Regions from separate parts of the Homo sapiens genome. Here regions 2, 3 and 4 are each linked to region 1. The links are contacts of gene promoters, found by promoter capture Hi-C in blood cells and fetal thymus (Javierre and others, 2016). All regions are on one chromosome and are shown on one strand. The core of a region is centred on a gene start or on the middle of the fragment in contact, and the rest is flanking DNA. Distances in the headings are between cores, read along the strand shown. Region 1 holds the start of TBC1D23 (TBC1 domain family member 23). Region 2 overlaps CMSS1 (cms1 ribosomal small subunit homolog). Region 3 overlaps CMSS1 (cms1 ribosomal small subunit homolog). Region 4 overlaps CMSS1 (cms1 ribosomal small subunit homolog).

Region 1 (6,743 bases), core at 3,225-5,724:
TTTTAAAATTAAATTCAAATCACTTAAAACTAACTATAAGCATTTTTACAAGAATTTCACCACACCCTTTGAGCTTACATGGCTGAATCCCAGGGAGCTTGAAAGCTGAGGCATTTTCTGATTACTTTGGCTTTCCATAAAGAATAAGCATTATACCAACAGACAATTCCACAGCTCACAAAAACACTGGAGTCAGGAAATTTATATGAAATGACAGCTTAGTATGCTATTGCACATAATTACAGGAAAGTTTTCATTCATGCGTACATTCATTCAATAAACATTTACTGAGACACCTGCCTTTTATCAGCCACTGCCCTTGAGAAGTTCATTATCTAAAGAACAATGATAAGTCATGTAATTACACATATTTTAGTATAACATGTAAGGTGATACAATGTGACATATACAAATTCCTCTGACCTACTCATTCTGATATATATATAACCTAGAACCCTGCTAACTTAAGTGTGGTCCATAAACCACCAGAATTGGCAACCCCCAGCAGCTAGTCAGAAACAGAGACTCTCAAGTTCCACCTCAAAATATATTGAATCACAATCACAGTTACCTGGAGAGCATTTTAACAAGCTCCCCAGATAATTCCAATGTACGTTTAAATTTTGAGAAGCAGTGAACTAGAACATAACTGAAAATCAGCAAAAACAATGTCATAGAGTCCACATACTTTTAAGATCTTCAAGGTCCATCCTGAGCCTTTTTAAGAATGTATATACAATTTCAACAAGTTCAATGGCTTAGTTTCACAGACTAGGAACAAATTGAGATACCACTGACAACAAAAAAAGAAAATAGGAAAAACTTATAAAAAGCAATCTCAAAAAGGGATAGCTGTGTCACTTAACATAGCAACAATTTGTCTAGATAGGCCCTAAAAGTCTCACCACATTACAATAACACAAAAGTAATCGATGTTCTCAAACATGCCTCCTGTATCTAGAACATAAATTCCCTGAGGACAGAGACCTAGTTCTATCCTTAAATTACACTTACATTTGTAAACTGAATGACTCAAGTCATTAAGATGAGTTTGAGCTAGGCAGTAAGATATATGATACATTTTAGAAAAAATTCCATCTGACAGAGTTAAAATAAAAACATTTACTCCAAAAAGAAAGAGAGATAAAGAAAGAGAGGGAGGGAGGGGGAGGGGAGAGAAAGACAGAGTAGAACACCCGGATGGATGGGGCACACCTGTAGTCCCCAGCTACTCAGGAGTATGAGGCCAGCCTGGGCAACATGGCGAGACCTCGTTTCTTCAACAAAACAAAACAAAACAAGAGTAAAGCATCCCCATTCTATAACCCATTCACCAAGCACTCTAAGAACAGAGCCTTTACTGAACCTCTGGCTCCCAATCCCAAAGTCTTCCTATTCAAATCCTCTTCTGGGGGGCTGATGAGAGTGCCAGGATAAAAAGGAGAAAGATTAGAAGAGGATGGAGGGAAAACAGAAATCACCGACCATGTTAGGGTTCCTCCATTCATGAAAATGAAACCAGCAAAAATACAAAGACACACCAAAGATACATCAATCCTACAAGAGAAAAAATGCTGTCTCTAGTAAACATTCACTCCATGTCCTCTGCCCATGTGAACCAGAGATTCTCACAATCCCTCTAACCTAAGAACTCCCCAGAGGCACCTTAACTGTGGAAACATTTCCCCTCATGGCACTCTATGAGCTGGTTACCGCCAGTTTATGACACAATTCACCGTTCCAAAACAGCAAACTTCAGGCTATAACCAGCTAGGTCACTTTCTGAAAAGTGTTGTAATGTCTGTCACTGATTCTTAAAAGGTGCATTTAATTAGTTAAAAACTTTTTTACTATTTTTCCAGATCTATTTTTCTTTTTTCTCTTGCCATTCTTGCAGGATACCAGAAGCAAAAAGACGTATTTTTCTGCAACTTCTCTCCAACCAGGTAGTTCTCATTCTTACTCTCAAAACAAATTAGTTGTCTTGTCTATGCCCTTGCTTATGCTGTTACTGTCAGGCCTCTGAGCCCAAGCCAAGCCATCGCATCCCCTGTGACTTGCACGTATACGCCCAGATGGCCTGAAGTAACTGAAGAATCACAAAAGAAGTGAATATGCCCTGCCCCGCCTTAACTGATGACATTCTACCAGAAAAGAAGTGTAAATGGCCGGTCCTTGCCTTAACTGATGACATTACCTTGTGAAAGTCCTTTTCCTGGCTCATCCTGGCTCAAAAAGCTCCCCCACTGAGCACCTTGGGACACCCACTCTGCCCGCCAGAGAACAACTCCCCTTCGACTGTAATTTTCCTTTATCTACCCAAATCCTATAAAACGGCCCCGCCCTTATCTCCCTTCGCTGACTCTCTTTTCGGACTCAGCCCGCCTGCACCCAGGTGATTAAAAGCTTTATTGCTCACACAAAGTCTGTTTGGTGGTCTCTTCACACGGACGCGCATGAAAGTTACTCCATTCAGAGGCCTTTCCCATCTCTTAATCTGATTCTGCACTAATATGTTAGCTCCAAGCCATGTGTGGATATTTAATATCTGAAATGTGGCTAGACCAAATTGAAATATAAGGTAGCTGTAAAATGCACATTGGATTTTGAAGACTTGGCACAAAAAAGATGTACAATTATCTAATTTTTTAAACAATGATTACATGTTGAAATATGTTAAATAGATTATTAAAACTGATTTCACCTGTTTCTTTTTAGTGTTTTTTTTTTTTTTTTTTTTTTGAGACCGAGCCTCACACTGCCGCCGGGCTGGACAGTAGTGGCTCGATCTCGGCTCACTGCAACCTCTGCCTCCCGGGTTCAAGCGATTCTCCTGCCTCAGCCTCCCAAGCAGCTGAGATTACAGGCACGCGCCACCACGCCCGGCTAATTTTTATATTCTTAGTAGAGACGGGGTTTCACCATGTTGGTCAGGCTGGTCTGGAACTCCTGACTTCAAGTGATCCGCCCGCCTCGGCCTCCCAAAGTGCTGGGATTACAGGCGTGAGCCACCGCGCCCAGCCTTCTTTTCAGTTTTAAATGCTGCTACTACATAATTTTAAATTACAATATGTGGCTTCTATTAGACAGCCCTGGGGCTTAAATCCTACTTATTCTTCAAAGCCTAGTTGAAACACTGCTGCTTTCATGAAGCTTTCCCCCAGTGACTCCAACTGCCCCAGCCCCCACCGCCAACCTCTCGTAACACTTTGAATCACACTCACAAAGAATAAGATTAATTTTACCTTGTTACACCTTCCCAACTCCAACATAAGCAAGTTGAAGAAAAAAAAACTATATCTAGATCACCATGAAGTTTTCCTCTGACACCTTGGAGAGCCCAGCGCTACGGTAATGTTTGATGTCTGCTAATGGAGAGCTGAATTTCTTAATTACTAATTATCTATCCCTTTCAACGATTTCCATTTTTTTCCTCTGGGATTAAAGTCGATGTCTATCAATGTCCTGTATTATTTTTAAAGTGCCCATGAGCTGTACACATACAATATAACGAACAAGCAAATCCAAAACTAATACATGTGGTCAATACACTTAGATCAACTGTAAAATTTAGACAAGCCTCTAAAGGTCCCTTTTTAAAAAATGATGTTGTACAACCTAACAGTGTATCGTGAGATCAACTATTTCAAAAGTAGAAGCCTTTCCCAAAGATTAACACTGGGTGAGCAGTTTACCAAAAAATTATTGGCGGTCTTCCCCCACAATCCCGAGTATAAATCAGGTAAGCATGCAACAGCTTGGGTGCAGTAAGAGCAAAGTCCCACACTGCATCCAAAGCTCAGAAATCGAGCTGTGAGAAATGTGGTAGTAGGGGAAAAGATGACTTGCGTGAAGGAGACGAACGATGAAAACTGTTGGAATGCAAAACGAGATAACAGCCAGAATAAAAAAAAGTATACCAACTAAGTGGGAGGGATTCTCCTCGGGTCAACCTCTGAACCCTCAGGCGAAGGTCGCAGTGGTCATTTCAAAACGTCTTTTCTTCACATTGTATTTTAGTGACTCAGATCTGCATCCAACAAACTTCCTTCTTCAGCCTACTCCAACTCCCACAGCCAGGACTCCGGCCAAACCCAGCCCTGAAGCCACCCACTCCAGCACACTTTGGAGACTGACAGACGACACAGGAGGACCGTTCTGAGGCCCAGCACCTGGATGACACCCCTCTCCTTGGGAGTCCCGCCCCAGTCCCTTGGGCAGAACCAGGCAGGCAGGGGGCACCCAGCTGGCAGAGGGGTAGGGCAGGGCACCGGACTTCGCCTAGGACCGGCCTCTCCGTTCCATGCCGACGCCAGACGGCTCCTCGGGGACCGGCAAGATGGTGAGAAGGAAGAATAAAGGGGCATTGGAAATTAGCCCCGGCTTTCACTCACCAGCCGTCGCCGCTCGACGTTGGCAGCGGCGGCACATCTTCTCCTTCCGCCATTGCTGTTGACGTCCACGTCACTTTGCCGAAAAGTGGATCCGGCGCTGAGACCAACTCCGAGACTCAATGTCGTAAAAGGTCTTCGGAAGTCCAGCACTGAGCTTCCCCAGAGGGGAAGAAAGAGGGAGGTGGCAAGGGACTGGAGGAACGCAACGTCACGGCGTCCCGAGGCCGAAAGGCAGCGTCTTGGGGGAGGAGACTTGGTGGAGGCAGCTGCCCCTCCAAAGACTACATGTCCCAAGATGCCACGGTGCCGCGGGCGGGGCGGGGCGCGGTGGACGCCGTCCCAGTTGGAGGCCTTGTGTGACAAACAGCGTGTCTTTTTAGCGTCCACTTAGCGTCTTCATTCCAGCTTGGCGTCGAAATTAACAAAGTTAGAATTTACAGTCCTAACTATTGGAGAAAGCAAGGGAAATGGGAATTGACATAGGGAAGGCGGACGTAGGAGAAGAGCCACAGTTCAGTAATTTCCTGCTGTAGCAATTTAATTTGAAGAAAGAGTGGGACGTAAGGAAAGGGGCAGACCACCCCTATTTGTGAGGCCCCGTCAAAAGTGTAAATGAAGGCCCACATACTTTTTGACTGAATATTTAAAAGTTGTAAATGAAGCTATATACTAAAGGAGATACGTTCTAGCCTCCTACCTTAAATATATCTTCCTAACAGTCTGGAAGATCAAGTCCGAATTTAGAATTCTAGGACTGGAATTCCAGGCAAGCAGAGCTGCCAAAATCCTTCTCTACGCGTTCCACTTCCCCTTTACACCGCATGGGCGGACACTTGGCCACCGCCGGGGCCTTGGGGTGAGCACACGCTCAGGAGGATGGACCTAAAGAAACGCTTTTGCAAGCCCTGAAAACAACAGTGATGAAGTAGAACTGCATGTAACAATATGGATACATCTGAAAAATACGCTGTTAAATGAGCAAAACAGATTGCAGACGGATAGGTAAAGTATGGTATCATTTATAGTTGGTGTTTAAAAGACAATATATTTAAAATAGATCCATATGAGTTTAAAATGCAGGAGAATGATATATAGAAAACTCGGAATGGCAGTTACATTCAGGGAAAGGGAGGAGTTTCCATGAATTTTTAAATATTTATTAAGGGCCCCAAGGTGGCCACATAGGTGGCCAGTGTTCTTTATAGAGTCTATACTTAGGTATCTAAAATGTTTCATAGTTTCAAAAACTATTTGTTTTAAATAGATACAAAACAGTACAGCTATCTCATTTACAACCAAAAACATGTTCACTCTCTTCCCTAAAGGGAAATAATACAGATCTGCATGGTACTGCACCCACTTCCAAGGCCCGGATCTCTGTAATGTTCAGTTCTCTGTTAGGGAACATTTCTTTTAACATAGAATGAGACTGTAGATGCCCTCTATCAAAAAGAATAAAAGACGTGAATCTAGGTCACATTACCATTCTAATATTCAGGACCTCCCCTGGGTCCCTTCAATTGTTGCCAGTAGATTTTCAGAAACTTTTCAGAAAATGGTTTTAAAACCTATTCAGTCATTGACATGAGAAGCAGTTGCTCACTGGTTAAGAAGATTCTAGTCCTCAATTATGATTCATTTTGAGTATAATTAAATCAGCAACTGCTTTATAGTCTCTGGTAAAATATTTTCCCATTAAAAATATGTCACTTGACATTTTTAAACAGTTCTTTATTCTGTCAAAATAAAGTGGAAAGTTCTGACTTCTATGTTCTTTAATGGAGCCAGAGCCAGCTTCATGGGCATGTAGTCTATGCAATAGCATGAGACCACATGCTTAGAAGAACTCTGTGCTTGATTTCATGCTCTGGTGTTGCCATCTTGAAATTCTTAATAATTTGGGAACAAGGAGCCACTGGTTTTAATTTTGCACTAGGCCTCACAAATTAGGGAGCCAGTTCTAGATAGGGTCAATATCTTAGTGATGTATAACCCATTGGGGACAAGATTTCAACCAAAATTGTTTAGCGATAGTGTCTTCTAGCGGATTTTTTTTTTTTTTTTTTTTTTTTGAGACAGAATCTCACTCTCACCCAGGCTGGAGTACAGTGGCATGATCTCAGTTCACTGCAACCTCTGCTTCCTAAGTTCAAGTGATTCTCCCGTCTCAGCCTCCCAAGTAGCCAGGACCACAGGCGTGTGCCACCACGGCCGGCTGATTTTTGTATTTTTAGTAGAGACGGGGTTTTGCCATGTTGGCCAAACCATTTTTCTTTATTATTATTTTATTTTTATTTTTCTGAGACAGGGCCTCACTCCCTCAAGTAGAATTTGTTAAATTCTAATAAT
Region 2 (7,649 bases), core at 3,040-5,539, 270 kb after region 1:
ATATGTGTGTATATATATACACATACACACACACACACACACACATATATATATATACACACACCATGGAATACTATTTACTGGCTTTAGAAAAAGAATAAAATCATGTCTTTTTGCAGCAACATAGATGGAACTGGAGGCCATTATCCTCACTGAAATAACGCAGCAACAGTCAAATACAGCATGTTCTCACCTATAAGTGGGAGCTACACAATGGATATACATGGACATACAGAGTAGAATAACAGACACTGGAGAATACAAAAGGTGGGAAGGTGGCAGGGGGGTGAGGGTTGAAAAATTACCTATTGGGTACAATGTCTGTGATTTGGGTGATGGGTACACTAAAAGCCCAGACTTGACCATGATGCAATATATGCATGTAAGAAATGTGCATTTGTACCTCCTAAATATATAAACATAAAAAAGATAGATTTAAAATCAATTAAATTAAAAAATTATAAAATCACTTCATATATTTTCAACAATAGGAATATACCTTGGAACAATTACTATTATTACTCCTAAAACCTCACCAGCGACATTCACTGAGTGTTTTAAAACTTTTGGAAGGGTGTGTGCCCCTGCAGGTAGGCCTCACACTTCACAAACAGGTAGATCAGCCATTTGAAATGGTCATACATTTCTAATGAGAACATTCTCTCCTTAAAGAAGAATAGGCTGCTTATTTGTAAATTAGTGGGAATTTTCTACTGCAAATCGAATGAGAATGGGCATATTTCCTGTTATATTCCATTATGGGGGGAGATGGGAAGAATTTTTTTGGTCTTATGTCAGGACTGACCCCCAGTGACATTTGTCCTTACGGGAACTCATGGACCAGATTATGGGCATCTTTGTCATTTGTGGATATTTCTGGAGCACCTGTATTTTTATTTAATTCCCAAAAGGCAGAGACTTTTATTTCCAACCAAAGTTTAAGCTACTTGAGGGAAGGGGCAGACTTTATGCTTTTTTCATTTGCTCTCTGCATAGATGGGAGTCAACAAATATTTATCTGTTGGAGAAAATATGAAGGGAAATTAAATGTTTGCTTCTTCCACCTTCTTTATGGAATTCCAGAAAGGTATTTTTTTTTATTACAAATATAGGTAAATTTTTTTTCTTATATTTCTTTTTTTCCTCCCGTGGGCACTTGATAGGAAATGGGTTTTCAACTCTGGCTGCATATCAGAATTATACCAGGAGGCTTTGGAATGATACTGATGCCAGGACATCATCTCTAAGATTCTGATTTAATTGGTTTTAAGTGAAGCACAAGAATTGGTATTATTTAGAGGCTCTCCAGTAATTCTAATTGTGGCCATGACTGAAAACCACCACTGGAACACATAATAGATATTCATTTAATACACATTTGTTAGTTTGACTTTAAGTTGAGAGAAGGTGTAATTAGGGCTGGGGGCTGAACATTTAGTGTTCACTTTGTTATGTCCTCAGCACTCAGCAAGTGCCTAAGGGCATAGGGCTCTCAATGTAAGCTGTGAATAGAGAGATTGAACGGATCAATATTAAGTTCTCTGATGACTGGGTGCCATGGTTCAGTTGGCAATCTGTGGCTTCTGGTTCAAGCCCTGATATAGAAACAGAATGTCTATCTCTTTCTGTCTATCTTTGCCTCTCTCTCCTCTCTTGACTACCCTCTCTACCACCCAGTGAGAATTCTGTTAGGACTAGCCTTTCTGTTTTGTTCATTATTTTATTTCTAGAGCATAGGCAGTATCTGGCATACAATAGCTGCTGGGTAAATATAAGTTCAATATATTTCTCTTTCTCAAACAAACACAAAGCGGCAAACAGAGAATTGCAAAAATAGTCATTTTATGGGATTTAAAGACTCATACTTCTTAATATTATAGTCAGAAATAAACCACTGGCATTATTGCTTTGGGTGGGTATAACTCTCTCTTGCACTCTTAAGCACGTACCAGGTGTCTTGGAACTAAGGAAATAACTACTCCAGTTTTAAAATCCACTTGAAATCTTAACATTGACTACATACAGTAATGAGATTTTATGAAACTGATCTGAGTAAGTAAAAATTTATTTCCATTTTCCTTTCTATCAAATCAATATCTAACTTTTAATATTAACATGTTGATAACATATTAGCATACTAAATAGGATTACCTTACTTTGTTCCTTAGGTATTTTTCTGCAAAAAAAAGAAAAAAAATATATATATATATATATATAGAGGAAGATACTAAATTGAGTATTTTGAAAAAATTGCTTTGAATGTAATACTTCCACTCTCTGAAAATATTTCAAAATAAAGTCAGAGTAGCTTGCAAGAGCAGTGAAACTGCAGGAACAGGAGGACTAAGATAACAATGTCACAGCTCCAATAAGGAAATGGAGTCAAGGGTTGGAGTCAACTGAGGAAAACATCCAGAGTGCTGTAGTTTTGGGTCTCCAGAAAATGTGGGGGACACAGTAATTGGGTTATTAGATACTAGAATGGGAAGTGATAGTCTTCTTGTCTGGGGGATTTTCCTGTTTCCTCACTCTTGCCTCACCCCCACCTCTACATTTAGTACCTAGAATCCTAGACATGCAGTCAAGAGCCCCTGAGAAAGCAGAGCAGAACTCAGACCAGAGCATATAAAGCAGGAATCAGAACAGAGGTTGGCTTTGTGAGCTTTGGAGTCATAAGCCTCACTAAACTTACATTTAATTTATCTCCAAGAAAATTATAATACCCATGTCATACAGTTGTTGCTAGGTCCAAACAAGATAATGTATATGAAAGCACCCTATGAACTGTGAGTGAATCACAAAACAAATGCTAAGTAAGTTTATGAGATGGAAGAATTTGTTGAGAAAAATAATTCCTAATTTTTCCTTTGAAGTCCATAAAAAATGTACCTGCTCTAAAGGTATAGACACAGTCACACTACACTTCTGATAATTCCGTACAGAAATTTGAAAACAGAAAGTTCCCAATTACTCCGAGTGCTGAAAGAAGCTTTAATAGAAACCAAGGCAGAAGCCAGGAGAATGAAGGCACCTGCCAGATTTGGAATAAAAATTACCAATGAAAGAACAGCCCAAGAACAATGGGTCAATGGTGGAAGTTTAAGTGTTATTATACTATGTTTCTGTAAAAGTTATAGAGGCAATCCAGACAATGCTTTTTTTATGTTTAAAGGAAACAAATAGAAAGGGTTAATTTCTTTTTTGTTTGCATCATCTAACTACCAGTCAGAATCAAACCAAGAAAATACAACTGGACTTTGGAAATGGTCTTTAAAACAAAGTTTTTCTTATAAGAGAAACCTACAGAATTGAAGATATATTTCAGACTTTCTTTTTTTTTCCTTTTCTTTCTTTTTTTTTTTTTTTTTTTGAGATGGAGTCTCGCTCTGTCGCCCAGGCTGGAGTGCAGTGGCATGATCTCGGCTCACTGCAACCTCCGCCTCCCACATTCAAGCGATTCTCCTGTCTCAGCCTCTGAGTAGCTGGGACTACAGGCACATGCCACCATGCCTGGCTAATTTTTTTTTTTTTTTTTTTTTTGGATTTTTAGTAGAGGTGGGGTTTTGTCATGCTAACCAGGATGGTCTCCATCTCCCAACCTCGTGATTTGCCTGCCTAGGCCTCCCAAAGTGCTGGGATTACAGGCGTGAGGCACTGCGCCCGGCCAAATTTCAGACTTTCTAAAAAGAATATATGGTTGGATTAAAATAAAGATAAAAGATCCCACAATTCTTTTAGCTTTTGTTCACTTATAGAAAAAAAAGTTATTGAAACTGAAGAATATAAAAAGAAGATTCTTAAGAAGTATGTATTGACAAGCAATGAAATTACAGCTTAACCTTACATTTTGGTGTACCAGCTTCTTTTTTACTTTCATTTGATTAGAGAAAAAAGAGCTATTCTTAAGAAACAGAATGATGGCCTGGAAGAACAGTATCCTCAACATCTTTCAAGAATCCAACAGGATGAGAGACTGGCAGCTCTGTTCTAGAACTATGTGCATTATTGTTTGCCAGATCAAGTTAATGAAATGTTTACTGCTAGAATGTTATTTTTTAAGTTAATAAAAACATTTCTTTTTGCTGACTTGCTCATTGGACATATGCATGCAATTTAAAATGGAATTTCAAAAAAGTTTCATTACATGCACCTGTGAAGAAAATAACTGAGGTCTTGGGACTGTGCTAAACTAATTCTGACTTTGGGTCATGTTAATAACAGAATTGTTAGTCTTGTCAGACATGTGGCTTTCTATTTTAATAAGATTAAGGCCAGAGGGTTCAAACTCCCTTAGTTTAAATAATCTCTTGCACTTAAATATTTTTTCTTTCTTTCTTTTTTTTTTTTTTTTTTGAGACAGAATCTCGCTCTGTCACCCAGGCTGGAGTGCAGTGGCACAATCTTGGCTCACTGCAACCTCTGCCTCCCGGGTTCAAGAGAGTCTCCTGTCTCAGCCTCCCGAGTAGCTGAGATAACAGGTGTATGCCACCACACCCCGTTAATTTTTGTATTTTTAGTAGAGGCAAGGTTTCACCATCTTGCCCAAGCTGGTCTTGAACTCCTGACCTCAAATGATCCACCCACTTCAGCCTCCCAAAATGCTGGGATTACAGGAGTGAGCCACTGTGCCTGGCCTTTTTTTTTTCCCCTTAAGAGACAGGGTCTTACTCTGTCCCCCAGGCTGGAGTGCATGGCATGGCCTTGGCTCACTGAAGCCTCAACCTCCTGGGCTTAAGTGATCCTCCTGCCTCAGCCTCCTGAGTAGGTGGAACTACAGGTGCATGCCACCACGGTTGGCTAATTTTTGTATTTTTTTGTAGTGATGGGGTGTCACTATGTTGCCCAGGCTGGTCTCGAACTCCTGGGCTCAAGCAGTCCTCCTACCTCAGCCTCCCAAAGGGCTAGGATTATAGGCATGAGCCACTGTGCCTGGCCTAAATATTTCTTTGTATACTCTCCTAATATGTTCTTGTCCTCCTAACTAGATCAGGGTTTCTCCACCTTGGCACTATAGACATTTTGGTCTGAATAACTCTTTGCTGTGGAGGGTTGTCCTCTGTACTGCAGACATTTAGCAGAAACCCTGGCTTCTACTCACTAGATGCCATAATACTTCCTACCATCCCCTGGGGGTGGGGCAAAAGAATCCCCCGCTTAGGGCCACTAGACTAGAGGAAGAACCATTCTCCTCCTTCTACTTGAGTTCTTAGGCCCACACCCATCACCACTTCATTTAATCTTCATCAATTTCTTCAATTTCTTCTCTCCATGTGCAGTTGGTAATTCTCTTTGACAAACAAGTATCTTAATTCTCCCCATTAAAAAAATAAAAATATACCTACCAACCTCATATAAGCCCTGTAACTCCTGTTCTCGTCTATTTCTTTCACTATCAACTTTCAGAAAAACTAACCGTCACTAGTATGTCTAAAACTGTGTTGTTAAAAATAATGTATGCCAGTGATATACTTTTTCTTTATTTAAAAAATATGCAAAACCCCCTGAAGCACACATACTATTCTCTTTATTTTACAATGATATGTCTTTATGGCAATGGAGTGGAGGGCATATCTAATGCCACAAGCTTCATGAAAAAACACCTGTTCCTGGGACATATCCCATTCAATTTACAGATTGATGCATGAGCAACATCTACCAACCATTCTATTGATGTAAGCTATCTTTACATCTTATAATTTGAACATATTTGAGATATCTGGTTCTTATTAAAATAAAAACAATTTAGATTTTCTATCTTTTTTCCTCTTATAACAATGAAAACACAAGTGAAATAAATTTTAATATCTTATAGACATTAATTTATCTGTGAATAAACTTCTTGCTGTTGACTTGGGTCCACGTGCAAACTGTATCTCATTAAGTCCTATTAGTATCAAAGTATTGTGGTACAAATGTGTTCTGTGGTCATACTGACTTTAACCCCCAATGTGTTTTATGAATATATCCAACAGAACTTTAAAAAGCTTTTCTCAGGCCCGGTGCGGTGGCTCACGCCTGTAATCCCAGTACTTTGGGAGGCCGAGGTGGGTGGATCACCTGAGGTCAGGAGTTCGAGACCAGCCTGACCAACATGGGGAAACCCCATCTCTAGTAAAAATACAAAAACCAGCTGGGCATGGTAGCAGGTGCCTGTAATCCCATTTACTCAGGAGGCTGAGGCAGGAGAATTGCTTGAACCCAGGAGACGGAGGTTGCAGTGAGCCGAGATCATGCCATTGCACTCCAGCCTGGGCAACAGAGCGAGACTCTATCTCAAAAAAAAAAAAGCTTTTCTCATGATTATAAAAGAAATTCACAAGATTGAAGAGAAATATCAGACTTTAATTTTAAAAGTATGAATTGGCAAGCTCACCTTGTTTTTTTGAGACAGGGTCTTGCTGTCACCCAGGCTGAAGTATAGTGGTATGATCTTGGCTCAAGCTATCCTCCCACCTCAACCTCCCCAGTACCACAGGCGTGCACCACCATGCCCAGCTAATTTTTCTATTTGTTGTAGAGATGAGGTTTCGCCATGTTGTTCGGGCTGGTCTTGAACTCCTGGGCTCATGCAATCTGCCCACCTCAGCCTACCAAAGTGTTGGAATTACAGGCGTGAGCCACCATGATGGGCCCTAGATCACTTTCTTGAGACTAATTTTAGAGAACCAATTGCAGTTTTCTCAACCTTTTAAAACAACCTTTGACCCCCTAGGATGATTTTTTGTTCAATCTTCTCTTTACTCCAATTAACTTTTGAACTTTATTTCTAGTAGTCTGTGTTTTAAATTAAAAAAGGATAAGCAGAATATGCAACTTCTAACCATATATACCTGGTACCCTGCCCCTTATACCTTCCTCACGGCAACCCCTTTAAGTATTTATTTTTAACACGAGTTATCTCATTTCCACTAAATCTTTTCTTCTAAGAGCAATATCCTCAGTTTATTTAACCTGGGAATTCCAGTTGTCCAAGTTCCTTATTAACCTAATCCTGTGTTTGTTAATATCTATATACTGTGCTTTGGGGCTGATGTTTGGCAACAAAGAATGTACTCAATAAACATTAGCTGAATATGATCCTTGATTTTATCATATACTTATCTTACCTTCTCAACCAGGCAGAATTCTGAGTAAAACATAGATCTTTCTATTCTTACTACACATCTTCCTACATGCTAGGATTCCCTCCCCCACAGTAGCCAAAGTAATTGGCCAGAGAGGAGGCTTGGTAGATTTGGCAAAGGTGCTCATTCTTTCTAAAAAGCACTTGAAGGGGGAAATTTTGGGCAAAGATCTTCTAAGGGTAGATACCTCTTGGCAGTGTGCAGAATGAGTTTCAGTGACCAGGGGCTAGAGGACCACTGACCACATCAGAAATTTATCAGAAAGTTAATGCAAATGATAGAATTTCACAAATCTTTAGAGTTCACAAAAAAGTTATCCAGGCTCATGAGCTAATGCAGACTAACTGGTGCCTCCTGTTTCTGCTCTGTCATTATCTATCAGTAATAAATGGTTTAATCCTAAAAATATATTATGTGGTTTTCATTCTTGGCTCTAGATTACATGTGGAGAAGACAAAATATAGCCTTTCATTTTGTTTGACAGGACACTCTACATAATAAATACATGAATGGCTACTAGTAAAA
Region 3 (7,122 bases), core at 525-3,024, 310 kb after region 1:
TTCCTTCCAGGATACACTAATGTGGAAGGAAGGTACATGACCATACTCTATGTAAAATCAAGCAATTAAATACATTGGCACTGAAGGATCTTCATCATCAATGCTCCAGGAAGTTATTTCATTATCATCAAAGAGTTTGATAGGCAAGACTAACGGAGCTCCAGGAAAATATGATTAATTTTTTTCACAGTCTTTCACAAGTAAAAAAGTGTCTGGCTTTGGCTGTATATCTTGTTAGAGTTCTCAAGCATTGCTGGGAACTGTTCTGAGGAACTGGCTTCCTGATTCAACTTGGGCCACTAAATTCCGGTTTAATAATTACTTCTATTATCCCCCAGAGCCAAGCACAAAGCAAATATTTTCTTAAATGCCTTCGCTAAAAAAATCAATTATCTAGCCTTTGTTTTCATCTTTTAAAAATGTTGTAGGTATCTTTCCATGAGAAACAAATATTCCGTAGGTCTCTGTTTATACTCCTTGTCATTTACAACTCTGAAAATCAAAGTCTTTACTAAGTTTTGCTAATAGCTCTGTTCCATCCTCTGTGTGAGCATGCCACTTTATTACTACAGAGAAGACTTGAGTTCTGACCTGCAGGTTCTTAATAGAAAAAACAGCACCCCATTGCTAGAATGATACAGCCATAGAATTGAAAGGGGCCTTGAAACCACTTGTGTAATCACTTAGGTGATGAAAGACAAATTACCCAGCACTTGATCTAATTTTCTGTTTTAAGTGAGAGAAGATACCCTTTCATTTACCATTATATAATGGAATCTTTGTAAGAGGCAAAACAGATGAGAGGAGAATGGCAGGATTTTTCTATTCAAAGTGATTTTGCCTTTGCTAACATTTATTGTGGGCTTATTTTATGCCAGACGTGGTGCTTAGCACTTCAATTATTTCATTTTACCCTAACAATAATCCTAACAGTCTGTTGTGACTTTTTTTTTTCTTTTTTTTTGAGACAGAGTCTTGCTCTGTGGCTCAGGCTGGAGTGCAGTGGTGTGATCTCAGCTCACTGCAATCTCCACCTCCCGGGTTCAAGCGATTCTCCTGCCTCAGCCTCCTGAGTAGCTGGGATTACAGGTGGGCACCACCATGCTTGGCTAATTTTTGTATTTTTAGTAGAGACGGGGTTTCACCATGTTGGTCAGGCTGGTCTCGAACTCCTGACCTTAAGTAATCCACCTGCCTCCACCTCCCAAAGTGCTGGGATTACAGGTGTGAGCCACTGTGCCCAGCCCAGTTATTCTTATTTTATAATGAGGAAATTGAGGCTTAGAGAAACTGAGAGTCAAACAGAGGTTGAGTTCTTTTTCTGGTTTTGCCATTAACTGATGAGTGACTGTCATCAAGTTTCCTAATGTCCCTTGTTTGTGTTAAACTGGGAGCCATTATGATACCTATCTCACAGTGTGGCTGGATTATTATGTGAGATACTGGCCCAAAGTGTGTCTAGCATGAATATTATACTCCCTCTTGGCAGCAGGATGGGGTATCAGAGAGAACCTGGGCTGTGGAATTAGATGACCTGGGCTCAAAGCCCAGCTCTACTATTTCTTAGCTATGTGATGTTGGGCATGGACTTCAGCTTCCTGATCTTCAAGTTTGTCACCTGTGAAATATGAAGACCAATATTTGTACCTCACAGTTACTGAAGTGTTAAGTGAGATGAGCCCTCATACAGCTTGCTTAGCCTAAGGCTGCTACAAACTGAGATGCCACCACCTTCTCCTCCTTGAGGGTCACATGTACAACAAGGTAACTCTCTTAAGGGTGCAACAAAAATAAGGAATGCAACTTCTAAGAAGACTGCAGGGGAGCTTTAAGAGACTTACAATGTGGGAAGAGAGGCACTGGTCAACCACAGAGCAGGTCAGTGTGGGAGGTATGCCTTGGTGCCTTCTGCCTCCAGCATGGGCAGACTATTTGTGGATCAAGGAAGACAGGATTCCTCATGAAAGGGCACAACTGAATAAGCTAGCTAATTGCCTATGTGGACTGTTTGGGCAGTTCTCTGTCAGTATAGACTGAGTTTCTAGGAAAGGCCATCACTGTGGTTTCATTATCTATGAAAAGCACATTCCAGTAGAAATGACAAGTAATCAGTGTTTCAAATATATTTATAGCATCTTCCTATTAGCAAGACAATAGGAACAGCCCTCACAAAGTCATCTTAGAAAAGACTGGTTGGATTTTATTGAATTCTTTAAAAATGCAAGGATTTAGGACCCCATTCAAAGGTAAAATGGTCCAACGTGGCATGAAATAGAGACAGATCAACTGCCACCTTCCTAGGACATAATAATTATACAACTCCAGTCCAGACAAAGTGACATAAAGGCATCTGTACCTCAAACTGCACCCTCAGAACCTCTGCACTACTTCACTTCCTTAGAATTTCATTGGTTATCTGATTTCTCAGTCTAAGAAATTCTACTTCCTTAGAATTTCATTGGTTTGCCCTATGTCTAGAAGCAAAAACTAGACATAGGGTAGAAGGTAGAAGCAGGTCAGAGGAACAAAGAAACGATTGGTTATAGCTTAACCAATAACTTAACCAATATAAATAAATGATTGTTGACAACACAGAGGAAGTAGAAAATGAAATACAAAAAGATAATATTATTTAATACTTCATATGCTGTTTATATACATAGCATTGACCTTTAAGTATGCAGCTAAGTATGAATTACTTTAAAATATATTTTTATCAAGATGACAATTTTTAAAAAAGTTCTGGCACTTGATAGAGAAAAGGAACAGTCATGAGAAAATCCACCTTCAGAGACCACTCAGTTCAGTGACAAAAACCAAATCAATGAGAGGCTATATTCTGGGTTATTTCCAAAACTATCTACAATCCATTGCCCATTTTGGGGGTATACCTCTATAGCATTCTTTTTTTCATTATGCAGAAAAACAATCCAACATATAAAGATTGAAATTATCCTTAACTAATTCAAATAAAATCTGTAAGACACGTTTTCTTGTGTTTCTTCTTAGGAATATTCATGAGCAATTTAATAATAACTGTTTCTGTTTTTTCCCTTCTTCACTCAAAGCTAGTAAACTATAGATATTATTTAAAAATATAGGGTAGAAAGAGGAAATTCATGCTTCTTGAACAGTGCTCTCTTTCTCTCTGTGTGTATGTGTTTAAAAGCCGTGTATCTATGCCTATAAGAACCAAAGCATAGTGTTTTCTAGCACCAGAAGTTTAATAAACTGAGAATGTAAATGATCCATTCCTTGTGGCTTCTATTCCACAATGACTAAGCCAACCATGAATGAACTCCACACAGATCCTGAATTCTTTACACTGGTTCTCAGAGTTGGAATTTTTGGGGCTGGGGTAGGATCAGCCAGAAAATTATTCTGTTTCCTCAACTTGAACAGACATAATGACTGGCAGAAGAACAGCTGAGGAAAATGTTTGAATTGTATAGTGATAATTTGCTCATTATGAAAATACCTTAGATGTCTAGCTTAAGCCAAAATAATCCAATTGAAACTGCCCTAATTTGATTTAGGAGACAAATTTTGTGATCAGAGACTATATCAGATCTCAAATAGAAATTGACCCTTATTCCCCTTATTAAGTCAACGAAAAAAAAAAACACATCTATAGGAGACTGTGGTCTGTGCGACTCTTAACAACCTCTGGTGATGCCTGTGCCAAATCTATATATTCTCTTTAACAGCTTCAGAGTTGGCCCTAGGTCACATGTGCAGTTACATATGGTCCACTGGAATAAACAGTAATTTTTAAAATAAATTTCAACTAAGGGTGTGGGGGCAGGTATTCTTGCAGATTGACTTACTTATAGGTTCTCTCACTATTACTTCAGAACCTCATCTAAGGCAAGGGTCAGCAAAATATGGCTGTTTTGTAAATAAAGCTTTATTGGAACATAGCCACAGCCATTCACATGTATATCATTCCATAGCTGCTTTCTGGAAAGATAGAGTTTGAGTAGTTGTGGCAGAAACTGCAAAACCTAAAATATTTACTGTTTGGCTCCTTACTGAAAGAGTTTGCTGACCCATGATCTAAGGGTACCTATTGGGTCAATTAGTCACTGGATGTCATTAGGGAAGAGACATAAGGTGGCCAAGCCCAACATAGTGGGGACTGTGTATATGTGGTGGGGGAGGTGGTCAGGCAGCAATGATGGTACAAAAACACTTGCTTCATCACTATTTCTCATCTTTCTTAGTCTACTATCTCACAGAGTTGCAAATACATGAGCTCTACTAGGTCAAGTCCAAGCGATTTTTACCAGGGAGACTGGACTAAAACAAAATCTCATCATTTGATGACTTTCAAGACAACCTCATTCATTCAATCATTCATTCATTCGACAGAGTACATACTATGCGCAAGGTATCCGTGAGCAAACAGACCACGTCCTGTACCCACAGGACTAAGGGTTCAGTGGGGGAGGTTGAAATTCTTTAGATAATAATATAGATGTAAGTAAAATAGCTACTGTAATTACTGGTAGAAGAAGGAGGTCTTAGTGCTACTAGAGTGTATAATGTGGTTATGAAGTCAGGGAGGACTTCTCCAGGAAGTATCAGCTGAGGGCTGAAGGCTAAGTGGGAGTTAGCTGAGTGAACAGCTGAGGGAAGAGGCCCAAGCAGTGAGCACAGCACAGGCAAAGGCCTATGAGTGAGAGAGAAAATAGTTAAGTGTAAGTGACTTAACTCAAGGCCAGCACGTTAGGTGCAGAAAGAGTGACAAAGGGAGGGGCATGAGGTGAAACTGTGGGCCAAACCAAGCAGGGCTTGGATCCCTCTTAACAAGTTTTGAGTTATTCCAAGGGCAGAGTCAAACCCAATAATCCCTGGGTGACAGCCTTCCCCTCCCTCCAGCTACTACTGTCTCCGTGATCAGTTTTTCTCTCTTTCTTTCTCTCTCTCTCTCTTTATTTTTACTCTCCTTTTAATCTTGGGCCAAATACATAGCTCTGTTTTGAATATTTACCTAAGTCTCCAGCACCATATTCAATGAGCACAAAGCAAAAGGAAAACATAACAAAGAATTTAACACACAGCTTTTTCTGAATATATGAAACGTGTAAAGAGAATCGTGGGCTGCCTCCATTCCTCTTTCTGTCTGGGGAGGCGAATATTGGAAATGGTGAGTGGGGATAGTCATACAGCCATGGGCCACTTCCTGCTGGGAACAGCACATTTTAAAACTTCAAGTATACTATCCGATGAATGAAATTTTGTAGCTGAAAAGGAAGGAAAGTCACCAGGGGAGACTAGTGAAAACGGAAGATAATATAAAGAAGTGAAAAAATCTCAGGAATAGGACATGTGCATCATGGCCCTGCCACTTATTAACTTTGTGGCTTTGGGCAACTTACTTAACTTTTCTAAGTTCTGATTTCCCTACCCATAGAAATAAGAATAATCAGGCATCCATCACAGAATTGTTAGGATTAAATGAGATGCTGTAAAAATTTCTAACATTTAGTAAGAGCTCTGGTATAACTATCATCCTTTTCCAGTAATATAGTCTATTTCCGATACATAGCATGGACACAGAGAAACCAGGGCAAGTGGCAAGAGAAAATATAGATAAGGAAGTAAATAAGAAAAAAGTCCTATCTACAGTTACAGTAGGTGGCTCCTTGTGCTTTATAAACTTTACCTACTTTTGTTCTCTAACCTAATGGTTCCAAGTGACTAAGTGACACCTTAAAATGACCTTGTCCCCAATCCTCCTTAGCAGGTAGCCAAAAATACATATAAAGTCGAAGGTAGAAGCATACCTTTGATTATGAAAGTAAAGGTTATTCTGGGAAATAATTAATGATATCCAAGAATATGTATAAAGCAGCAACAGAACAACTCAGCCTGATACCTCCCTAACACACACACAGCTGATTAAGAATGTCCTTGGTAATAATTGTGATGGATTTTAAGGAAAATATGAACAAATCAAAGAATTATTTCTACATGTAAGTCTCATTCTGATTCTCAGAACTTAGAAGACCAAAAAGTAAAAATTCTACTTTAGATACATAATGGCTAAAAGAACCACTACAAATATTTCATTGTGCAACTCTAATCACCTTTTAAGTGTTGTTGTACCTTTCTGATTAGGAAATTATAACATAAGCACCATGCACTTCTTTGTCTTTCTTAGGAAAATATTAAGTACTTTGAAATACAGCCATGTTAGTGCCCTGAGAAAGATTCCAAGGTTGCTATAGAATTGTTTGTTTTTCCTTCTTTCAACTGATAAAACGTACTGCGAGTAAAATTGCCTGTTGAAAGGTGGGACTATACGTGGAAGCACAGACAGTTATGCATTCCTGACTTCCTCAAGTAAAGAACTACTATACAACTGACTTTTTAGACAGAGCTGAAGAACAAAAATCCTAAGTATATTTAAATATTTAACCAAGAAGCCAGTTGCCAACTATGGAGGGTTTTATTTAAATTTAGCTTATTAAAAACAAACAAACTGAATCATACAAATATGTCAAAATAAAAATTGAGGAAACCAGCCTAAAGTTTTTTTGTAGGCCTAGCCTCAGCATTTTTAGAACCAGGAGGTTACAAGGCAAGTTTTTCTTTAGTTATAATCTTAACAATAAATCACTCTGGCTACTTGCTCACAGATTTTTGGGAACTTTATCCTGCTTTCACATTTATGAAATATTCCTCCCAATTTTTTTTGGAATTTACTCACCAAAATTTATGTCAGGTGGCATTCAACTAACAGCTGTATGCTAGGAAATAAAATGGCTAAAGGATTCTGGATATATCTTGAAAGAATTGGCCACATTTTTAAGACCACACAGTTATGCAAAAAGACCCCTCATAGTATGGATGTGTGCTGGTTACAGTGTGCAGTTTACAATGAGGGTGTCCAGTCTCTAAGTCCTGCTGAGAGGGAGTGGGGCAAATCAATCTCCAGATCCTTCCAACCCTGATGATGTCTTATGATTCTGAGGCTCTCTTCTTTCTTCTCTTTTTCTTTCCTTTCTCTTTTTCTTTCCTTCCTTCCTTTTCCTCTTTTTTCCTTTCCTTCCCTTCCACTTCCCTTTCCCTTCCTCTCCCTTTCTCTCTCCTTTCTCCTCTTCTTCTTCCTCTTTC
Region 4 (7,349 bases), core at 334-2,833, 290 kb after region 1:
ACTTAACCATCTTATCCATTTGCTGACTATACTCCATGTCAGTGTGCTAATTTTATGACTAATCCATGTTTCCCAACAAGACTACATATATCTAGGTCAGCAACCAGGTTTACATAATCCTACCTGTACCAAATCCTACCAAAAGAGTATATAGGTGCTTTTTAGAATGATCTATATCCAGAGGCCCCAACGTCATTATTCATTCATTCATTCAAGCTAGGAACCGACTCTGTTCTCTTTTATGGGAATGGTGTTGCAGGGAGAGGACTCCTTTCAGAAGTTTGAGGTTCCGTGTGTATCCTAGACCCTACCATACAGACTCCTGTGAGTCCACAGTGTGAGGTCCTGATGAAAGCAGGTCTAAAGCCACAGTTCACTCAGGTCTCTGTCCCTATACTCTGGTACCAACTTAGATCAGGGAGTGGCTACAAGACAAAAGCTGATGGAGGAAGTGGGAATTTTGGAAGTGAGGCTTAGAGAGGTTAAGCAATACTAACATATTTTCATCTGCATCTCCTGTGAGACCTCATTCCTGAGTCCCATACCAGTATTTCTACCCAGATTCTACAGACATCTCATATTCAACATGTAGAAAAGAGGACTCCTCATCTCTCCTTTCAAATGGACTTCTTTCCTTGTGTGGTGATCTCACTTATGGGTTCCAGCATCCCATATTCTCTTTTTTTTTTTTTTTTGAGATGGGCTCTGTCACCCAGGCTGGTGGGCAGTGGCACGATCTTGGCTCACTGCAAGCTCCGCGCCCCGGGTTCACGCCATTCTCCTGCCTCAGCCTCCCGAGTAGCTGGGACTACAGGCATCTGCCACCAGGCCCGGCTAATTATTTTTTGTATTTTTAGTAGAGACGGGGTTTCACCATGTTAGCCAGGATGGTCTCGATCTCCTGACCTAGTGATCCGCCCGCCTTGGCCTCCCAAAGTGCTGGGATTACAGGCGTGAGCCACCACGCCCAGCCCCCATATTCTCTTAAGAGACACCAAAACCTGCCAATCCTTGCTGTTAAATATCTTGTGAATACAGCCCCTCCTCTTCAATCACACAGGTAGGAGCACTGCCAAGCCCTATTCCTTCACATGAATGACTGCAACAGCTTCCTAACCCATCTTCCCACCTCTAGTCTTTTTCCCTTTAATTGCATCCACACCAACATTTATCTATAATATCCTCACAACATTTTGCTTCTTAAAATCTTTCTGTGGCTGGCTGTAGCAGATAGTATAATGTTTAAGGTCTTTAGAATGGTAAAAAGTCCTTTGAGGTCTATCGTAGCACGCTCTCTTAAGTACTCTACCTCTCTCCCAGCCCAGTTCATATCCCATATACAGAATGTCTTGTCATTTACTGAATGGTTTTCCTTGCTCTTTTTAAACTCTTGTGACCCTGTACATGCAAGGTCTAGAACTATTTTCCTACTTATCTACTAGTAAACTACAAGGAAAGCAGGGATATGCTAGGTTTCAGTTAGGCAAAATGTAGAGAAAGTGTTCTGCAATTAGGTAGAAGTAGTTTGGGAGTGAAAGCGAACACAAATAGGGTGGGGAAGCACAGAGTATGTGAGAATGAGACTTCAAAACTGACTAGTGAACCACATTCATTTCCTTTACAGCATTTATCTCAGTTATTACATGCTTAAGAGGAGTTTGGTCTCATCCACCTCACACACCAGAAGGCCTGAAGGGCAGTGAGGGTAAGGTGGGCATTCCCTATTCAGAGTGATTGCAGCCTCTAAAGCCAGACTGCCTGGGTCTGAAACTGAGCTCCAAAACTTATCAGATGACTTTGGGCAAATTACTTATTATTTCTATGCCTTCACTTTCTCAGCTGCAAAATGATAACCCATTTCAGAAGGTAGTTGTGAGAATGAATGATTTAATGCACGCAAAGTATGAGGTTGAACCATATGAAATTACTATTTTTATATGTCAAAATACTCAAATATCAACAAGTTTATATGGCTTATCCAAATTTTAAGCCAATGCCTAACTGATTATTCCTTTTTATAATGCTTCTAAACCATTACTCCCTAATGCCTCTGATGTAACAGCCTCATTTGTTGAATTTCATATTATCCAATTATCTTTTCTCATTGATGTCCCCCTGCTAATATCCTGGTCCCTCCATAACACTTATTCATGACTAGGGCACTTGGCAACAATCTTTAACATACCCTTTGTGACAATGAGTGACTTCAGTATCCATCTAGACAAGCCATCCAATAAACTATAAATTCCTCACCTTCTTCATCTCCATGGTCACAGATTTCCAAGGTCAAACCCTGCAACTAATTATCTAGTGGGGCTGCTTCCTATCCATTATGTGAAGATGACCACAATCTCTGATCCTTCCAGGCTCCCCGTGCCTTTGCCCTTACTACCTCTGCTCTCCAATCTCTGGAAAACCATAGTTCCTTGACCTCTTTCCTGGCCTCACTGCTTTACCCAGTTGGGATAGCACGGCTCATTACTTCAACCATTCTTTCACTAATATCTTTAGAATCAATTCAAACGTAGACTTCTGTATTTCTGTGACCAATCTGTTGAGCTCAGCTGGAAAAAAAAGTCAGCTTTCAGATTGACGCAACTATATAAATCTGCAGTCCTCAATCTCAAATAGGCCATCAACGTGGCTCAACCTCCTACTCATTCTTGCTTAGCTTGCTCTTATTTTACTAAGCAATGTTACCAAACTGTCATATTGCTCAAGAGCCCAAACAAGGCTACATCCTTCTCTGCAGATGACATCATTTTCTACTTCAATAAGAGAATTATACATACATTATCCCAATATTGTTCCCCTCCCCTTCTTAGATATGCCTGGACCTGTCCTTGTGCACTTTCTTTCAATGACAGGATGAGGTATTCTTACTCCAGGTCAAGATCCTGCCCTGCCCTCCACACATGGCCCCCCTTTTCAGCACTCCCAGGACCGAGCTCCATTAATTATCCCCTTTACTTCCTAAATCTTTAAATTCTCAGTGCCTATTTACTCTTTCCTCTAAGCCCAGAAACCCATTTAAATCTTTTATCAAATGAATTTTTTTTTCTTTTTGCTTCTTGAACCTGGGTTGCACCCCAGAAACCATACCCTTCCTTCTCTTCTAAGGCAAGTGACTTGAAAGAGAGGTTTGTGCTAACCCTTCTCAACTTTCTTACCCTACCCATTTACTTTAAAACAAGACACAATGTCATTCTGCCCTGGCCACTGGACTGAAACTTCTCTGATGAGACACCAGTGAACTCCATAATGCCACACCTGAGGAAAATGTATCAATTCTCTCCTCTCATTTTTTCTTATTTCTCTGTTTTTTCCTTTCCAGTCTCCCTCATGGGTTCCTTGTCTTTTGTTTGCTTCTTAAATGTCTGTATTACTCAAGGCTTCACCCATGGTAATTTGTTCATTCTATATATTCTCCTTGTGCAATTTCATTTGCTCTTGATTTTAAACACCACTGATATGGGGTGACTTCCAAATCTGTATTTCCAGCCCAGATTACCTCCCATCACCTTCCATGTTTATTTACCTGGATAGCCTGCCTGCAAGGACTTAAACCCAACATATCATTCAGTCTTTTTTTTTTTTTTCCCCCAAAAACATAGTTTTTCAGGACCTACTTCATACTACTATTCAACAGTAAACAAGACAGCAAAACAGGTCCTTTATCTTAATCCCTGTTTCTCACTCGTACCCCTAAGTACAATTTAGGCTACAATAAGACCAAACTTTCTGTAGTTTGCCATTTTTTTGTTCAAAGAAGGTTAAACACTGAGGGCGTATGAACATACTACTCTCCCAGCCTGGAATTCCCTTCCCATGTTCTTTTCAATTCTTAAGACTTTAGGAGAAGTCTCATCCTCCAAGGTACCTTCCCTAAATTGCCACGTAAGGCTAGGTGCCCTTGATCACTGCCTTTACTAGAATGTGCTAAAACTATCTCTTTGTACATGTTTTCCCCAAGGATCCCTAAGGCAGAGATTGTATCTCTCTGTGAACAGCATACTGCTTGGTACATGAGTAATACATGTTTGAGATTGCCCAAGTAGATGTGCTGAAGTACTGTGATGCTTTTCTGACACTCCCACATACCGTTGCACTTATCTATTTGTAAATCCTACTCCTTCTCCTTGCTAATACCAGGTTAACTTTCCTGAGCATGTTGTGTCTCTTTCATTCTCCACATCACTCAAAATCATGTATATAAAAGGCACTCAAGGAGTATTGGTTGAATTGAGGTGAAATAAACAGATAAAACACTCCACATCTACATTTCTATTTCTGGGATCCATTAGTGTCATTCTGTAGCTCTGAGCTAAGATTTCTCAGGTGTCTTTCAGCTACTACCAAGGCCCAAAGAACGTTATCAAAAAATGTCCAGACTGTTCTTCAATCTCTGCATGTGTCGTGAGAGACCATTCCAATTGCATATGTGGGATTTCCCATCCAGGTGTAGGGACTCACCATATTCCTCAATTCACAAAACAAGGAGCCAGGAGGGGACTCTTAGTGGAACAAAAAATTCAGTTGACCCACTGGATCACTATGTACCATATTTCTTCCTGCAATGCATTAAATTCAGGCTCTTATGGCCTAAGTTCATTTCCAAAAAGTGAACACTTCTATTTACTCTTCACGAGAAGCTTCTCTCTCAATGCATGTAAAGTGCTTTGAGCTCTCTGTGAAAGGAATGATGTAAACACAAGGCATTATTACCAACACTATCCTCTAAATAACCTCATGAGGTAAGTATTAATATCAGAGGGACTATTATTTTACAGGCAGAGAAATCAGCTGATTTGCTCAAAGTCAGAGGTGGGGCTAAGAGCCAAGAACACATTCCAAGAGTCCTTTGCTTATTATATCCATTGCCAGACCTAATCCAAGCTTTTCAGAAAGTTCTTCTTAGAGTGTGAAGAGAGTCTGAGAACTTTATCCTTTCTTTTTCAGACTGTTCTTGCCCCATATCCTTTCCCTCTCTTATCATTTCTTCTCAATAGGGATCCAAAAGAGAATGCAATGATCACCTAACAGCCATCCAATCCCCCACCTGTATAGCATGTGGGGCAGTACAGAGGTTCAGTCAGGCATACTCCATCTATTTTCACCCAGACTTTACAATCCAGGCTGCTCGGAGTTCTGCCAGCTTGAGTTAGTTCAGTTCGAGTAAATCTCTAAGTCGTTCAAGTACGGCATGCTCTGTTGAATTAATTTTCTTCAGTTACGTCTTGTATACGTGGCCCATATAACTTTACAGAGATCCTGCTCACCAAATGATTTTTCAAATCTGACACACTACATTTATTAGAATGATTCTATTTTCATCCACCTAGTTTTAAAATCTGCTAGAGTTTGAAGGTTGAAAATGCCATGTAAATGTGGCATCTTAAATCAAACTGTATATACAGAGCGAAGGGTTCTGAGTAACAGTAATAATAGTTGTCCTACTTGTTGAATGTTTATAAAGTTAATTGTTAGTGATGAGTGAACTCAGTCTAAGTCTCCGTACTATTTTGACGGGGCTCTGCACAAAAACAATCATTTCTGGGGAAGGAGAAATCTTCTAGACTGAATTATATCTAGTTCTAACCTCTAAAACTATATATAGCCGAAAAAAAAAATCTATCCATCAATTTTCTGGAAGGGTTCAGGCTTCAGATGGAGCAGTGGGGCTATGAAAGAAACAGAAAGGAAGGGCTACTGGTGGTGGAGGCTGCTTTGCCCCAGGAGATCTGCCTGGAGTTGACCATTTCAACTTCCAGCCATGACAAGCTCCCATGCCCAGCCTCTGCAGCCTGCTTAGGTTCCTTCCCAAACTCCTCCCAAGTTAAGAAACAACTTATCTAAGGAATTACTCACCTACAAGTTGTGAACATTTTATTTACCTTTCCTAAGAGATATTGTGAGAGAGATATCCCTGTAAATATCACTTTCTGTGTTACAACACTGTTGTGCTGTACCCCTATTAACCTCAGCAGGGAAGGCACTAGGTTCAAGAGGCTGAAGAAAAGACCCAGAGGCAGCAAATGAGACATGGGGTTTACTAGGGGCTTACATATGGGGAGAGAGTGGAGAACTGGTGGCAGGCGGGACAGGAGAACTGCCTTATGTACAGAAATGGTCCAGTGGCGGCAGGCTGGACAACATGACTGCATGGCCAGTGGCTGCGGGCTGGGCAGGAAAACTGCAACTGCTTGCAAACAGCATGCAGTTTATAAAGCATTTTCATTTAACACCCTCCCCCTAATGACCTCCATCTGGTAACCTTCATTTAACCTAAAACTCAGGGCCTTAATCCCCAATAAGCCCATGTTCCACAGGATGAGCAGGGGGCTCAGATATTTATCATAGTAAGGAATGAATCTCCGAGTTGGCCATTCCTGGATTCCCTACCTTGGAACACACATTCAGGTGCACTGGCCATACATGGTCATTCTAAGGGTATGCTTAAATTGCTGCTATCAGGTATGTTTACCCTACAAACAAACAAATGAAGAAAAGTATCTGGAAGAAATTCAGAGATAGCTACAAATTTAACATTTATCTCAATTCCAAAGGTCTGGAAAATCAGTCATGACCTTGAAGAACATGCTGGTACATCCACAGAGTACACTACGCCAGAAGCAGCACATGCCATAGCACCTGACTGGGCAACAGAGAGAAATGTGACAGCCTGCACCAGTAAGAACACAGGCCAACCTTTCATTCTTGATAAAAAATTATAAAACTCCCACATATACAAAGAACACAGGAAAGAAAGTCATAAACCACTTGGACTCAAAGGAAAAATACCTGACTCATATATTTGTTTCACAATTTAAGCACATATCCCTCATCTCACAGTGGGGACTAAGTGATATGCTTGGCTAGTAGGATTAACATTGCTTCAGAAAACATTTTCCTGGACCAATGTAATCTTTCAAGGTAATTACTAGAAAATAACACTTGTAAATTTCCTTTAAAACTTTATAAGGTATCATAATTTATTTACAGATACAGCAGTATCTAAGTATATCAGGTACTTCAAGAAATACAATGAAAAGGATCATGTTTCTTTTTGGTTTGAAGAACAATTTTTATACAGAGTCTTAAAGCCTGGGAAACTATTGTATCTGTGCACTATGGGACTGATGTTCAAGTGATCTAATATTAACTTAGGAAAGAGTTTTTCCACAGTTACAGGGAGCATAGTAGATGAGAGGTGTGTGAAGGTATGATCCCCCTTGGGTAGCCTGGAGGTTTCTGGGCATTAGTCTCCTAGGGGACCTCTTTCTTCGGCTGCCCTCCAAAGCCTCCTTTGTTTACCATACTGTTCTAGACAAATATTCCCAGCTTCTCTG

What was found. The method cuts DNA at HindIII sites, captures the fragments that hold promoters and counts their contacts. A CHiCAGO score of 5 or more calls a contact.
Region 2: a contact is called between a fragment that was not itself captured here and the fragment with the promoter of TBC1D23 in region 1, in 1 of 17 cell types (megakaryocytes). The highest score is 6.0, in megakaryocytes.
Region 3: a contact is called between a fragment that was not itself captured here and the fragment with the promoter of TBC1D23 in region 1, in 1 of 17 cell types (megakaryocytes). The highest score is 10.7, in megakaryocytes.
Region 4: a fragment that was not itself captured here is called in contact with the fragment with the promoter of TBC1D23 in region 1 in 2 of 17 cell types (M1 macrophages and megakaryocytes); the score reaches 6.0 in M1 macrophages.

The regions. Positions count from the first base shown.
Region 1 is chr3:100,258,723-100,265,465 of GRCh38, reverse strand. It overlaps TBC1D23 (TBC1 domain family member 23), which reads right to left and starts at 4,474. Exons shown (of 19, transcript NM_001199198.3): 1 at 4,395-4,474. The coding sequence starts at 4,447. RefSeq lists enhancers at 1,727-2,395, 3,733-4,401, 4,177-4,666, 4,402-5,070. The HindIII fragment of the contact is 5,201 bases long and covers 3,156-6,743 here.
Region 2 is chr3:99,984,233-99,991,881 of GRCh38, reverse strand. The region is part of intron 1 of CMSS1 (cms1 ribosomal small subunit homolog); the gene reads right to left. The region is part of intron 1 of FILIP1L (filamin A interacting protein 1 like); the gene reads left to right. The region is part of intron 1 of LOC105374010 (a long non-coding RNA gene); the gene reads right to left. Among named protein-coding and RNA genes, the nearest start is that of MIR3921, 24 kb to the right of the region's middle. The HindIII fragment of the contact is 2,595 bases long and covers 2,992-5,586 here.
Region 3 is chr3:99,948,668-99,955,789 of GRCh38, reverse strand. All of the region lies in intron 1 of CMSS1 (cms1 ribosomal small subunit homolog), which reads right to left. All of the region lies in intron 1 of FILIP1L (filamin A interacting protein 1 like), which reads left to right. The region is part of intron 1 of LOC105374010 (a long non-coding RNA gene); the gene reads right to left. Among named protein-coding and RNA genes, the nearest start is that of MIR3921, 12 kb to the left of the region's middle. RefSeq lists a silencer at 6,378-6,578. The HindIII fragment of the contact is 4,266 bases long and covers 1-3,907 here.
Region 4 is chr3:99,964,680-99,972,028 of GRCh38, reverse strand. All of the region lies in intron 1 of CMSS1 (cms1 ribosomal small subunit homolog), which reads right to left. All of the region lies in intron 1 of FILIP1L (filamin A interacting protein 1 like), which reads left to right. All of the region lies in intron 1 of LOC105374010 (a long non-coding RNA gene), which reads right to left. Among named protein-coding and RNA genes, the nearest start is that of MIR3921, 4.0 kb to the right of the region's middle. The HindIII fragment of the contact is 6,142 bases long and covers 1-4,654 here.